Regions from separate parts of the Homo sapiens genome. Here regions 2, 3, 4 and 5 are each linked to region 1. Evidence: promoter capture Hi-C in 16 types of primary human blood cells and fetal thymus (Javierre and others, 2016). All regions are on one chromosome and are shown on one strand. Each heading gives the region's core, a stretch centred on a gene start or on the middle of the fragment in contact. The rest is flanking DNA. Distances are from core to core; before and after follow the strand shown.

What was found. Contacts are between HindIII fragments. The CHiCAGO score rates a contact against its expected background, and 5 or more counts as called.
Region 2: a contact is called between a fragment that was not itself captured here and the fragment with the promoter of RPS12 in region 1, in 6 of 17 cell types (naive B cells, total CD8 T cells, naive CD4 T cells and 3 more). The highest score is 8.9, in naive B cells.
Region 3: a contact is called between a fragment that was not itself captured here and the fragment with the promoter of RPS12 in region 1, in 1 of 17 cell types (M2 macrophages). The highest score is 5.6, in M2 macrophages.
Region 4: a contact is called between the fragment with the promoter of SLC2A12 here and the fragment with the promoter of RPS12 in region 1, in 1 of 17 cell types (total CD8 T cells). The highest score is 6.0, in total CD8 T cells.
Region 5: a contact is called between a fragment that was not itself captured here and the fragment with the promoter of RPS12 in region 1, in 2 of 17 cell types (total CD8 T cells and naive B cells). The highest score is 7.6, in total CD8 T cells.

The regions. Positions count from the first base shown.
Region 1 is chr6:132,813,241-132,815,858 of GRCh38, forward strand. RPS12 (ribosomal protein S12) reads left to right here and starts at 1,329. Exons shown (of 6, transcript NM_001016.4): 1 at 1,329-1,373; 2 at 1,492-1,542; 3 at 1,732-1,848. The coding sequence starts at 1,529. It overlaps SNORD101 (small nucleolar RNA, C/D box 101), which reads left to right and starts at 2,067; the gene lies at 2,067-2,139. LOC107986644 (a long non-coding RNA gene) reads right to left here and starts at 1,048. Exons shown (of 3, transcript XR_001744345.3): 1 at 53-1,048. RefSeq lists enhancers at 294-1,040, 955-1,234, 1,665-1,794. The HindIII fragment of the contact is 13,401 bases long and covers 1-2,618 here.
Region 2 is chr6:134,099,071-134,101,688 of GRCh38, forward strand. The region is part of intron 2 of LOC124901404 (a long non-coding RNA gene); the gene reads left to right. Among named protein-coding and RNA genes, the nearest start is that of SLC2A12, 48 kb to the left of the region's middle. The HindIII fragment of the contact is 5,204 bases long and covers 1-2,618 here.
Region 3 is chr6:134,079,267-134,081,884 of GRCh38, forward strand. No RefSeq gene overlaps it. Among named protein-coding and RNA genes, the nearest start is that of SLC2A12, 28 kb to the left of the region's middle. The HindIII fragment of the contact is 2,035 bases long and covers 285-2,319 here.
Region 4 is chr6:134,051,341-134,053,958 of GRCh38, forward strand. SLC2A12 (solute carrier family 2 member 12) reads right to left here and starts at 1,284. Exons shown (of 5, transcript NM_145176.3): 1 at 1,038-1,284. The coding sequence starts at 1,140. The HindIII fragment of the contact is 5,616 bases long and covers 1-2,618 here.
Region 5 is chr6:133,937,577-133,940,194 of GRCh38, forward strand. No RefSeq gene overlaps it. Among named protein-coding and RNA genes, the nearest start is that of TBPL1, 14 kb to the right of the region's middle. The HindIII fragment of the contact is 2,003 bases long and covers 299-2,301 here.

The sequences.
Region 1 (2,618 bases), core at 79-2,578:
TCCCTGGTGCTCTTACTGCGTTACCCATTTTTGTTTTTTTCGCTGCACTCACCAGTCTAACAGTATCTGCCCACTGGATTCACAGCGCTGGCACGTGCCAAGCGCCTAATAATTGCTCACTGGTTTGGCGGCTGACTACCCAGGAGAGGAAATTAAACACAAAGGCAGTATTGATCATATTCAGTAGTGTTTCGTGCGTTTGGTTTGGAAGTGGGGATTGGGGAATGGCCAATCACTTCCAAATTTAAAATATTGCTTCCTGGAAGAAAATGGACTCCTCAAAGACTGGATATTTCATGTCTGTAGTCCCAGGACCTGGCCCTGCGTCAGGCACATTGTAGGTGTTGAAAATGCACCTGAGGAATTCTGAGTTGCGCGGAACTGTGTATTCCGAGCACAACGCGTCGTTAAAAACCAAACAAAGCAGAACAAACTTCGTTCAGAAGCGACTCCCGCTATACTTAGAAACTAGAATTGACCCCTGGCTGCAGGGTTCCGCTTTACCAACACACCGCAGGGAAAGGGCTTAGAAATAGTGAAAGCGGCCGGGGGCGGCGGGTCACGCCTCTAATCCCAGCATTTTGGGAGGCCGAGGCGGGTGGATCCCCTGAGGTCAGGAGTTCGAGACCAGCCTGGCCAACATGGTGAAATCCCGTCTTTACTAAAAATACAAAAAATTAGCCAGGGTGGTGGCAGGCGCCTGCAATCCCGGCTACTCGGGAGGCTGAGGCAGGAGAATCGCTTGAAACCGGGAGCCGGAGGTCGCAGTAAGCTGAGATCGCGCCATTGCACTCCAGCCTGGAAGAGTGAAAGCATGTAGGCTCTCGTTTCATGAAGACAAAGATGAGGATCACACCCACAACGACACAAACATGGTCTCTCAGGGTGACTTAGAAGCGAAGGAACAAAGTGCGCTGCCTGGGGAGGCTGGGTCTTGTAGAAGCAACAGGAAAGTAGAACGTGGTGTGGAAAGGGTTAAAACTGGCGCTCGGCGGGATACAGGGCTCTAGGTGCCTTAAAGAACACGCGGACACACTTGTTTGGCTTCTGTCGCGCTCCGTAGAATGAGTTCCCTGGGCCTCGGTGGGCCACGCCTCCGCAAAGAAGGACAACGCGAAGCTGCCCGCGTAGTGCCTGTTGCACTCGCCAAGGACCGGCCTGGCAGAGATAGAAAACTCGCAGTACGTTTGCCTCAGAACCGCCTCAATCCGGAAACAGAAACTCCCCAGGCCCGGCACTGCGGGAGCCACCTCTTTCGAGGGTGGGAGTGCACATGCGCACAGGGGACCTGAAAAACCCTTAAATACCGGCATGCGTGCGGATGAGGCCTCTTTCCCTGCCGCCGCCGAGTCGCGCGGAGGCGGAGGCTTGGGGTAAGTTGAGCGAGGCGGCAGGGGGGTGTATTGGTTATAATTTGTGGCTCGTTGCGTTCTTGCTGGGATTCGTGACGAGTATCTGGTTCTTTAACAAGTCAATGCTTTTGTTTTTTAGTGCGTTCAAGATTCAACTTCACCCGTAACCCACCGCCATGGCCGAGGAAGGGTGAGCCCAGGGGCCGGGGTTGGAGTTGGGGTCGGGGTGCGGCTGAGGCGTGGGGCTAGAGCTGGCGGAACAGGACTGGGTCAAACGGGTCGCCGTAAGCGCGTCTGTTGTACACTTAGCTTTTGCTGAGTGCAAGGCCTTATGTGGTGTGAGGATTTTAACTGATGGTTCTGATGTGTCGCGTTTAAGCATTGCTGCTGGAGGTGTAATGGACGTTAATACTGCTTTACAAGAGGTTCTGAAGACTGCCCTCATCCACGATGGCCTAGCACGTGGAATTCGCGAAGCTGCCAAAGCCTTAGACAAGTACGTGTATCAGTCTCAATACTGTGGGTTCTTGCAACCGGAACAAAACTGCCACCCAAGGGAAGAAGGCATGGAGTTCATGGTGTTAGCGCAAAAGTTCTGAATGGCATCCGTCCTACCGGAAACCTAGGAAAAGGTATCAGAACTCAGATCTATAAAGCCCACTTAAAATGTGTGGGTTGCTGTTTGGAATGGGGATAAGCACTCAAAACTACAGTGTTTGAATGATGACTTTAATTGTCGGATACCCCTTCACTCCTTTTATGAGTGAAACATAAGAGTCTGACAAACCTGTAGGTTGTGGAGCTAGTCAGTCTTATACTTATCTGGCAGATAGATGAGATGGAGAGCCACATTACATCTGGTAGTTTGCAAAACAAGCATTAATTTAATGGAATTTCAAACTCAGGTTTCAGAAGCATTTGGTCCTAGATGAATTTAGTAGTATAATAGCTGTGATTTATTTGAATTTGGGATATTTGTTAATGTATTTGAATGGATCGAGTTAATGTGTTTTTTAGGGTGGTGGCATTGACAAATCAACCTACTCTTGAGCTGAATTTAAATGCAGTTTTAAGGTTTTACAGGACAAGTTCGTTTTGGTGTAATCTAGCCAGTTCAATCCGATGGAAACGGCATTATTGTTTAATGTATTTAGTAGGTCCTAGTATGAGTCTTCTGTATTTCTATTTCGGCATTATTGCATGGCATTTCATAACTGTTCCATTAATGCCACAGTCTTTTTTTTTTCTTTTTTCTTTTTTTTTTTT
Region 2 (2,618 bases), core at 48-2,547, 1.3 Mb after region 1:
CACAGAAACCGGGCAGGAATGACCTTATTTCCTTGGACCTTCTTCTTCCACACTGTGCCCAGTCTCACAAGACTTCTAACTCTGCCTGAACATTCCCACTTTAGAGTATTCGCACTTGCTGTTTTACCCACCTGGAGCGCTCTTCCCAGATGTTGCAATGACTTGCTTCCTCATATCACTCAGAACCTCTGCTTAAATGTGACTTCTACATCCAGGGCTCCCCGAAACATGCTAACAAAGGCAGCCATCCCCTTCCTCACTCCATCCCATTACACTCCATCCCTGAACCAGCTGAGCCCTATGTTAATTTGGAGCACCAGTCACTCCATGATATTATGGATTTATTTGTTGGTGGTATGCCTCTGCCCTAAGATGTCTACTTCATCAAGGTGGGGTCTTTGCCAGTTCTTCACAACTATACTCCCAGTGCCTACCAGATAGGAGGAATTTTCTAAAATTTATTGAGTTTGTGTGAGAATTATTGAAAAAAATGAAACTTTAGGGGCTCTATTGACTTTTTCTCAGATTTTACATTTAATTATCTAAAGTAATAATTATCACTTATAGAATACGTGCTAAGTGATAAATACTAAGCATTTAACACACATTATCTGACTTAATCCTCATAGTAATGCCAAAAGAATTACTGAATTGAATGTGTTTTCTTCGATTGCCTGGTGACCCTGGTTATCCATTCATTTTCAAAAGTTAAGAAAATTCTTATTATAAACTACTGAGAAAGGAAAGGAAAAAGAAAGTGCTTCATCAATACAAATAAGTAGCATAGATTTTCTCAGACACTGTGTAGATACATTTCCAAAACAAGCCTTTTCCCTGGATTTAAACTGGCTTAAGCTAGTCCAACCATTAGAAACAGATCATTGCTGGGACACGTCAGTAGTCTCCAGTGACTAAAGGTAGTAGAGAGTGAGAGGTGTTCCCACACAACCTTACTATCAGGTATATGTTATGATGAAAGCAAGTTTCAGGTTGAATTATGGCTCAAACAAATAGCTTTTAGCAAGCTGGCCCAATAACAGCTATATAATCTGTTTTTACAAGCTCTGTGACTACCTTGCATAAAAACTTCATTGAATGTAACAATATTTTAGTAGGAAGATTTAACTAACCTAGTGTGATTTTAAAGTAGCATGATCAGGTTTTCTTTGGAGCCCTAGAACAAGAAATTTGAAAGGTATGGGAAGCTGCACTCATTGGATTCTGATATCCCAGCTCATGCAAGGGCAACCATTCTTGCATAATATTTTTTAGCAAATCACATAACTTGAACACCATTCATTTCAACAATTAAAAAATGAATTCTAACAGCTCTTATGCTGGTAAACAATCCTTATAGTGCAGATGGAAATCACCGAAGCCTGTAGGAGTAGCCTCTGCAGGGAGGCTGCCTGATTAGAGTGTTTCAAATGCTAACCACTTCTGGAGCATGTATTCTTGATTAGGGAAAACATGCTTCAGATGTCAAATAACCTATCCTAGGGCCTTCACACTTCATATATATATCACACTGTCCAAGTTTAAGTAAGAAAATATTTGCAAACTATTCATCTGACAAGAAATTAATAACTGGGCCGGGCAGGGTGGCTCACGCCTGTAATCCCAGCACTTTGGGAGGCCGAGGCAGGCGGATCACGAGGTCAGGAGATCGAGACCATCCTGGCTAACATGGTGAAACCCCGTCTCTACTAAAAATACAAAAAAATTAGCTGGGCGTGGTGGCGGGTGCCTGTAGTCCCAGCTACTCAGGAGGCTGAGGCGAGAGAATGGCGTGAACCCGGGAGGTGGAGCTTGCAGTAAGCGGAGATCGCACCACTGCACTCCAGCCTGGGCAACAAAGCAAGACTCCGTCAAAAAAAAAAAAAAAGAAATTAATAACTGGAATATATAAGGAATTCCAACAACTCAACAACTCAATAGCAAAATAATAATAATAATAATCTTATTAAAATGGGCAAAATACATGAATAGACATTTCTCAAAAGAAGTCATAGAAATGTCCAAGTATATAAAAAATGCTCAGTGTCACTAATCATCAGGAAAACTCAAATCAAAAGCACAGTGAGATATCATCTCATTCTAGTTAGAATGGCTATTATCAAAAAGACAAAAAATGACAAATGCTGGTGAGAATGTGGAGACAGGCGAACACTTGTACACTGTTGGTGGGGTTGTAAAGTAGTGCAGCTATTATGGGAAACAGTATGGAGGTTCCTCAAAGAACTAAAACTATACCTACCATATGATCCATCAATCCCACTGCTGAATATATATCCAAAAGAAAGGAAATCAGTATATCAAAGAGATATCTCACCGCACAGCCAGGTAGCCGCAGACACACATCTCCATGAACCGCTTGAAAGTTGTGGCCTCCATCTTGCCCCCCCATGATTATCACCATCTCATCCATCAGCTTGATGTCGGGTTCCTAGCCGAGATTGCTGCCCGGCGAGCTTCTCAGACCCGTGGACACTTGCATGTTTATTGCAGCCCTACTCACAATAGCCAAGATATGGAATCAACCCAAGTGTCCATCAACAGATGAATGGATAAAGACAGTGGAATATTATTCAGCCACGAAAAAGAACAAAATCCTGTCA
Region 3 (2,618 bases), core at 52-2,551, 1.3 Mb after region 1:
GCAGGAGACTCACTTGAACCTGGAAGGCAGAGGTTGCAGTGAGCCAAGATTGCACCATTAAACTCCAGCCTAGGCAACAGAGTGAGACTCTGCCAAAAAAAAAAAAAAAAAAAAAAGAATATAAGTGATATAGGAGTTAAAAAAAATTATTTAGGCAGATAGTGAGGGTAAGGAAGTCCTCAGTAAGGTTTTCTTTTTAATGAAAAACAGGCTCCAAATCATTTTCTTTTCTAACAAAGAACAGCCTGTAAAATCGAGCTGCAGACATAGACAAGCAAAGTGGAAGCTTGCACAGGTGAATGCTGGCAGCTGTACAAGTAGGAAAAGGCTACCTGGGACTAGGCATGTTCAAACTGGCGGCTCCATCTTTCTTTCTCTTTGCCAGCCACGTGTACAGTAAGGAGAAGACAACTTGGCCCCAGCCAAGTGGAAAGCCCATTTGCATAATAAGATTAAGGTGGGATGGCCAGCCTTCCCCCTGTGCTATATAAACGTTACACCTGGTCCAACCATTCTGTGGGCCCTATGTAAATCAGACACCACCTCCTCAAGCCTGTCTGTAAAATCCGGTGCACTCCCATTCCAGGCTCGAATTCTCATTCGGGAGACCCTCTCTCTTGCAAGAGAGAGAGCTGTTCTCCTTTCTCTTTCTTTTTCCTATTAAATCTCCACTCCTAAAATCACTCCTTGTTTGTGTCTGTGTCCTTAATCTTCTTGATGTGAGATGACAAACCCTGTGCATTTACACGAGACAATAGTGCCGTTTCATAAGGAAGAAGAAGAATCAAGTCAAGATTGCTTATTGTAAGTTAGCCTAGAATTTATGGAGTTATGTAACATGACTGGTTGGTGAATGGATGGCACACAACTAAATATCTTCCTTTGAGAAATAAAAATAAAACTCTAAGTCCCCCAGCTAACTGAACAGACACCTTCTTGGCCAAGGGGACCCCAGAAAAACCTTAAAAACCAAGTCCTCGGTCGTGACAGAATGTGATGCTGGACACGCCTCATTAGAGCTCCTCCTCCACTGACTACTGCTAGGCTTTCTTCCCTAAGGGGTAAACAGAAACCAGTCCTTTTGAAACCAACCACCTGATGCTGCCCCTCCCTGTTGTGGTTTTGACAGAACAACTGATCAACATTCCTTCCTGATAAGAGACCACTGGCCATGGAGTGGATAGCAGAGGCTGCACACAGAGGGCCTTCCTGTCCTCTGCTTCACCTTTTGATGGATAGGGTCTAATTGTAATATATTTAAATGTTAAGTGTCCACCCCAAAGTGAACATGGGATGCATGCTGCATGCGTGTCAGCCTTCCCACTACACACACCTGTGCCTTCTCTTCTTGAATATCCATAGCTCCTCCTTTAACCTGTTGAATATGTATACTTAGCCAACTGACTCGGCATAAATTCCTGTTCCCTTCACCCCTCTCTTGAAGTGTGTTTCCTTCCCAGCCTGTCAGAATGGCCACCTGCAGGCTGCAACCCTTTATGAGAAATATGGCTTTTCTTTCCAAATTTATGAACCTCCCTCATGATTCTTCAACTGACACTTTGAAAACAATTATTTCACATACAATTGTTCAGAAGACAATTGTTAATCTGAAAACAAAATGTATACTCATAAGGGAGACAGAGATATTGTTTTTTAAACTGGAGTCTGACAGATTCCTGCTCCTCTCAAAAGAAATGCCACATCTGTCCATGGTCTGGTTCTTGCCTGTAGTCTTTGAATTATTAGTGAAGTTTGGTGCTGGGTAAGATCTACCATTCAAGTGTGGCTGCTTTGACAATTCTGCCCTTCTACTTTTTTTTTTTTTTTTTTTTAGATGGAGTCTCACTCTGTCACCCAGGCTGGAGCACAGTGGCATGATCTCGGCTCACTGCCACCTCCGCCTCTCGGGTTCAAGCGATTCTTCTGCCTCAGCCTCCCAAGTAGCTGGGACTACAGGCATGCACTACCATACCTGGCTAATTTTGCATTTTTAGTAGAGACAGAGTTTCACCGTGTTGATCAGGCTGGTCTTGAATTCCTAACCTCAGGTGATCCACCCTCCTCGGCCTCCCAAAGTGCTGGGATTACAGGCATGAGCCACCGCGCCTGGCCTGCCCTTCTACTCTTAAGGCAGGTAGGTGGGCAGATGTCATTGTGGGAGTGTGGTATACACAATGTCTTCTCTAGACTTAAAAAAAATTCTCTTTGGCTCCCTGGATAAACTTTGATTTCTCTAGATTTAGTCATTCTGTTTATTCCTATTGGTCCTTCTCTTTCAATCACTAATTTTGGGAAATTGCTCTTGGTTACCTGGCAACAAGCTTGTTGAGACTGATGGCTCATGTTTCCCAGAGAAAGAGCCTGAGTTTTCCCATGTGCTCAAGTGCTGCCCTGCATCCACTGGGATGGCTTCTACCAGAATTCAGCTTCTCACAGTAGTAGGCACTGTCCAATTCTCCAGATGCTGAAAGCTGGTATTTTCCAGGGGTGATTGGTGCCTAAGCTCAGACTTCTTAGTACTTGAGGTCAAAATGTTTATTTCTCACATTCAAGGCCATTGTTGGGCTCACTTTACACACAGGGAGTGCAACAGGAATTCAGGGTCTCCAGCAGGAGAC
Region 4 (2,618 bases), core at 34-2,533, 1.2 Mb after region 1:
GATTCCCCAAGATCAGACAAACCCACAAGGCAAACGTCAGTATTAGGACCATTCCCAAGAGAAAGGCAGATGTCTTTTGTATCATTTAGTGTATTGGATTTTGCATGAAATTTCTATATGCTGCTTGGGAATGTAATATCTGATTAAGAATACACAGCTGAGGAAAGTAGTAGGAAAGAGAAGATTTTTTGTGTTTGTTGTCATTTCATATTACAATTACTTTCTATTCCTTGCAGCACAAACTAAATGAGCAGGAAGAGGCAGCAAAAAGCGTACAATGTATTTGTGGGAATTGTAAATGTGGAAGTGAAGACCAGCCTCTGATTTATCAAAGATCATTAAATGAATTAAAACTTTTCCAAATTTCACCTTCAGAAGGTCATCATAGCAAACAAACCTCAGTTTGCAAGGCCAGTTTTAAAGAAGGCAGAACCCAGCAAAGCAAGCGTTTCAGGCTCTGAATAACGCTCAAATTCATCACAAACGTGCTGGGAATTTAAAAAGGAAGTTTGTGTTCTCATTGATTACATAACTAATAATTTTATGAAGCCTGTTTAAAATACTGATTTTTAAAACAGTGGTTATAATGTCAACTGGTTACACAGTGTCCATTTGTGACAATAAATGAAAAAGTGTAAGCAAGCGTGTGCTTGTGTGTGTTTACAAATGAGACTATCTTTGCCAGTGGACCGTTCCAATATGAAAAACATCCATACATTGTATTATGTAAACACAATCAAGGGGACCCATCATACCAGTGGTGGATGTGTAACCTGTATTTTCTTGGCACATAAGGTTCCACCAAGACTTCGATCTTCACAACATTACAGCTCCGAGCTGTCCCACGTCCCACCAGACCCTGTCCCCTTCTCTCCACTCATCCAGCGCGCCCACATGCGCGCGCGCGCATACACACACACACACACACACACACACACACACACACACACACACACGGGACTCAAGAGACAGTACACTCGGGAGATGAGTACAGCTTGCTTCTCTGCGGTCACCCGAGCACTGCAGGCTCACTTTACCTCTCGCCCAGGGAGGATGCCGGCTGCCGCTGCCCTCCGTCTCCACGGCTGTCCCCTTCTGGTTCAGCAGACTGGGGCCCTCGGTGTTTTCAACAGGTACCATGGTCACGTAGAAGTTACAGCCGCTTCCCCGCCACCAAACCGCCCCGACCACCCCCGCTCCCAGGAGTGGTCACTTTCCCCATAATAGCATGCTAAAGAAGAGTGTGGGGAAAAACTTCGGGCAAAGCTAATGTGATTTGTGACCAACTTTGTTTCTATTTCCGAAGGCTTTGCCCTTTTCGGTGACACAGGCTGTTGCTATTCCAAGCAGCCTATCACAGGCAGGGGGAGGGCCGTGAGTCAGAGGATTGTTTTTGCCTTTAGATGCAGAGTTGGAAGCAAGGGGTTAAAAGAAAGGGAACTCAGACGGAGTGTTTGGCCATTAGCTAAGGGTAGCTCTTGTATTCTAGCACCTTTGAAAAGAGGCAGAGAAAGGAAACATGCAGATTTAAATGCAAGCTGAGAGTGGGGATAGAATACTCACAGATGGTATCAGTTAATCTTGCAGAAAGAGGAACAATTTATGCAAAGACATACCAGAAGGAAAAGTGTGTCAATTTTTCAGCAAGACTGTTATTCCAAAAGTCATGGTATTTACCAGCTTACACAAAGCATAAAATACCTTTATTGTTTCAACCTGATTTTGGTCTAGGTAAAGGCCTATATCTTTCTCTCCAAGGCCTTTCAGATAAATCACAGCCTGAGACCAAAAATACACAAACTCAGAATGCACAGATTCTTTAGACTTTTTATATGCTGAGGTTATAGCAAAGTAATCCATTTCTTAATGCAGAATTGTCTTTAAGAGACAAATTAACACTGAATCCTCTGTTAGGTTTCATGTTTGCGTAGGTAGGAGGAGGATACTCCTCACTCAGAGAGGCCAGACTAAGTGGCCCATTGTGTGCGTGTGGTGGACATGTAATCTCAAACAAAATCAGGTCATGAGAGAGGATCTTTTTCTGATTTGTGAACATATTTATAAAAAAGTCTTACAGGGTTATGACATTTTACCTTCAGTTATTCATTCAACAAATCATGTTTATTAAAAAAAAAAGCCTTATAGAGGAAATTGAGATCATCTTAAAAATCATTTGGAATAAAAACTAACATGTGTGGAGCACTTATGTGCCAGAAATTGTGCTAAGCGCAATAACGCAGATGATGACTTTGAGGCAGGTACCAACATTATAGAAGAGGAAATGGAGGTTGGGTAACTTGGCTACAGTCTCACAGCTAATCAGTGGTAGAGCTGAGATTATGAATCCAGGAGGTCTAAAGCTGTAACTCTCCTATATTCTAACTTCCCAGCCTTGTCCTTCTCTAATTTTCTTGGCTTCCTATGGTTTCAGACCTACTCGACTTTAAGAAGATGCCGTGAAATATGGCTTTTAGTCATAGGCATTTCTCTGGACAGAAAAACAAATTTGTGCTTGTATAAGCAGAAGCTAAATTTTTGTTACTTCTTTTCAACATTTTAACTGAATCACTTCAAAGTTCTAAATTCACTTATTTGTACATTTCCTTTGCTTGTCATTA
Region 5 (2,618 bases), core at 50-2,549, 1.1 Mb after region 1:
CCAAGCTGGAGTGCTGTGGCTCCACTGCAACCTGGGTTCACTGCAACGTCCACCTCCCAGGTTCAAGTGATTCTGCTGCCTCAGCCTCCCAGGTAGCTGGGATTACAGATATGCGCCATCAAGCTCTGCTAATTTTTGTATTTCTAGTACAGATGTGGTTTCACCATGTTGGCCAAGCTGGTCTTGAACTCCTGACCTCAAGTGATCCACCCACCTCAGCCTCCCAAAGTGCTAGGATTACAGGCCTGAGCCACTGTGCCTGTCCTGTTTTGTTTTTCTTAATCAGTCAAGCTTGATAAGCTTGACTTTTAACTGGAGTATTTAGTTCATATACATTTAATGTAATTGTCTACATATTTGGGTTTTAATTTACCATCTTATGGTGTGCTATTTGTTCTACCTATTCAGTATATACTTTTCTCTTTTTTCTTGCTTCTTTCAACAAATTGTTTCTTATCATCCAATTTTTTCCCTTTACTGCTGGGAGATTGTGTAATTTGTTTCTATTCTTTTAGTAATTATCCTAGAATTACAACATGCATACTTAACCTTTACCCTTCATACAAGCTGCTTAGGATATTTGATTCCATTTGACCCTCTTCAACATATGTGATACTTGTAATTGCATTTTTTTCTATTTTTTAGATGCTATATTGTTGTTCTTTTACTCTTTCAGTGTATATTAACTTATTTATTCACCACTTTCTTTGTTCTTTATACCTTTTTATAGCTTACATTTTTTTTATCTGCCTAACGCACTTTTTTTATAACTTTCTTTAGTATGATTCTGCTTAGGAAAAACTACTAGTCTTCATTAGCCTGAAAATGTCTTTATTTCAGCCTCACTATTAAAATATTTTTCACTAGACATTAAGACTAGATAGTAATTTTCTCTCAGTAAGTGGAAGATCCCCCTCCATTGTCTTCTGATGTCTCTTGCTGCTGCTGAGCAGTCATGTCAGTTTCATATTTACTCCTTTGAAAGCAATTCATCACTTTTCTCTGATTGTTTTCACTATTTTCTTTTCTTTTTCTATTTTTTTTAGCTTTGCTCTTCAGCTGTTTCATTATGACAATTTTAGATATAGGTTTCTTCTTGTTTATTTTGCTTGAGACTCACTGGGTTGTCTTAACCTGTACATTAGTGTCTTTCATGTACATTAGTGTCTTTCATCACTTCCGTAAAATTCTCAGCCATTATCTCTTCAGATATTACCTTTGCCCCATTTCTCTCTCCTCTCCTTCCTAGATTCTGATGAGATGTATATTAATCTATTCTCCTCTGTTGTTTATTTCTTTTAATTCTTATTCTGTGTTTTCTTTTTGTCTCTCTGTTTCACTTTTAAATTATTGTTTTTCTGACCTAGCTCCTAGTTCACCAATTCTCTTTTCAACTGTATTTAGTCTGCCGTTAAAGTCATCAACTGGCTTTCAAGGTGGCCTAAAATGCATATTTACCTCCTTGCCCTTTCAAAATGCAATTAAATTGAAGAAATGTAAAAATAAAAATTATGTAAAAACATAAACATAAAAATTAATTCAGGCCAGGCATGGTGGCTTACACCTAGAGTCCCAGCACTTTGGGGGGCTGAGGTGGGTGGATCACCTGAGGTCAGGAGTTTGAGACCAGCCTAGCCAACATGGTGAAACCTCATCTCTACTAAAAATACAAAAAAAAAAAAAAAAATTAGCCAGGTGTGGTTGCGCATGCCTGTAATCCCAGTTACTTGGGAGACTGAGGCAGGAGAATCGCTTGAACCCAGGAGGTGGAGGTTGCAGTGAGCCAAGATTGTGCTATTGCACTCCAGCCTGGTGACAGAGTGAGACTCCGTCTCAAAGAAAAAAAAATTAATTCGTAGCAGCACTAAAAACCAGTATGGAGTGCCACCAGAAGACTAAAACAGTGGAGAATTTCTGAACCATATAAATTTATTTTATTCTTTGGTCCTTTTTTAAATATCTGCAACGTAATTTTTCCCGAAGATATTTCAAATTTATCTTTTATTTCATTAAATAATAACTATAGTTTTATTACCTGTTTTATAACCTGCTAAATCCAAATATTAAGTATTTGTGGTTCTATGGCCTTTGTTATTTCTGTTTGTTCTTGCTTATGTTGTCTTCTTTCCTCATGTGTCTGTTTAAACTTGACTACACATGTTCTGGTAATAGTACTTTAAAATGTATTTGTGGGAACTATCCTAGCCTAACAGGAATCCACCTTCCTATAGAGAGATATCTTTGTTTCTGCTAGGCACCTAAGGACACCATCAGTCTGAGACTACCTTAATCTAAGTTCAAAGCTTGAAATTCCCGGGACCGTCACCATGATGGAAACAACCAAAAGAGGATTTGTTTATTTCAGGTATATTCTTGCCCTAAGGACACAGCCCTTTCATTTCCTACCTCACTGTCAGGAGGATCTCCTTCCTGTTCAGCTTCCTGCTTTGTGCAATCCCTGGGCAATTGCCATACCTTTCACTCAGTGGGGACATCAAAACGAAAGTTCAAGTTGTCATTACCCCTACAAAGCATAAACACCTTCTACTGCTTATTTATCTCTCTTGGTTCTTTTTCGTTCCTAATTTTGGTCTTACAGTATCTTATTCTCTGTTCAG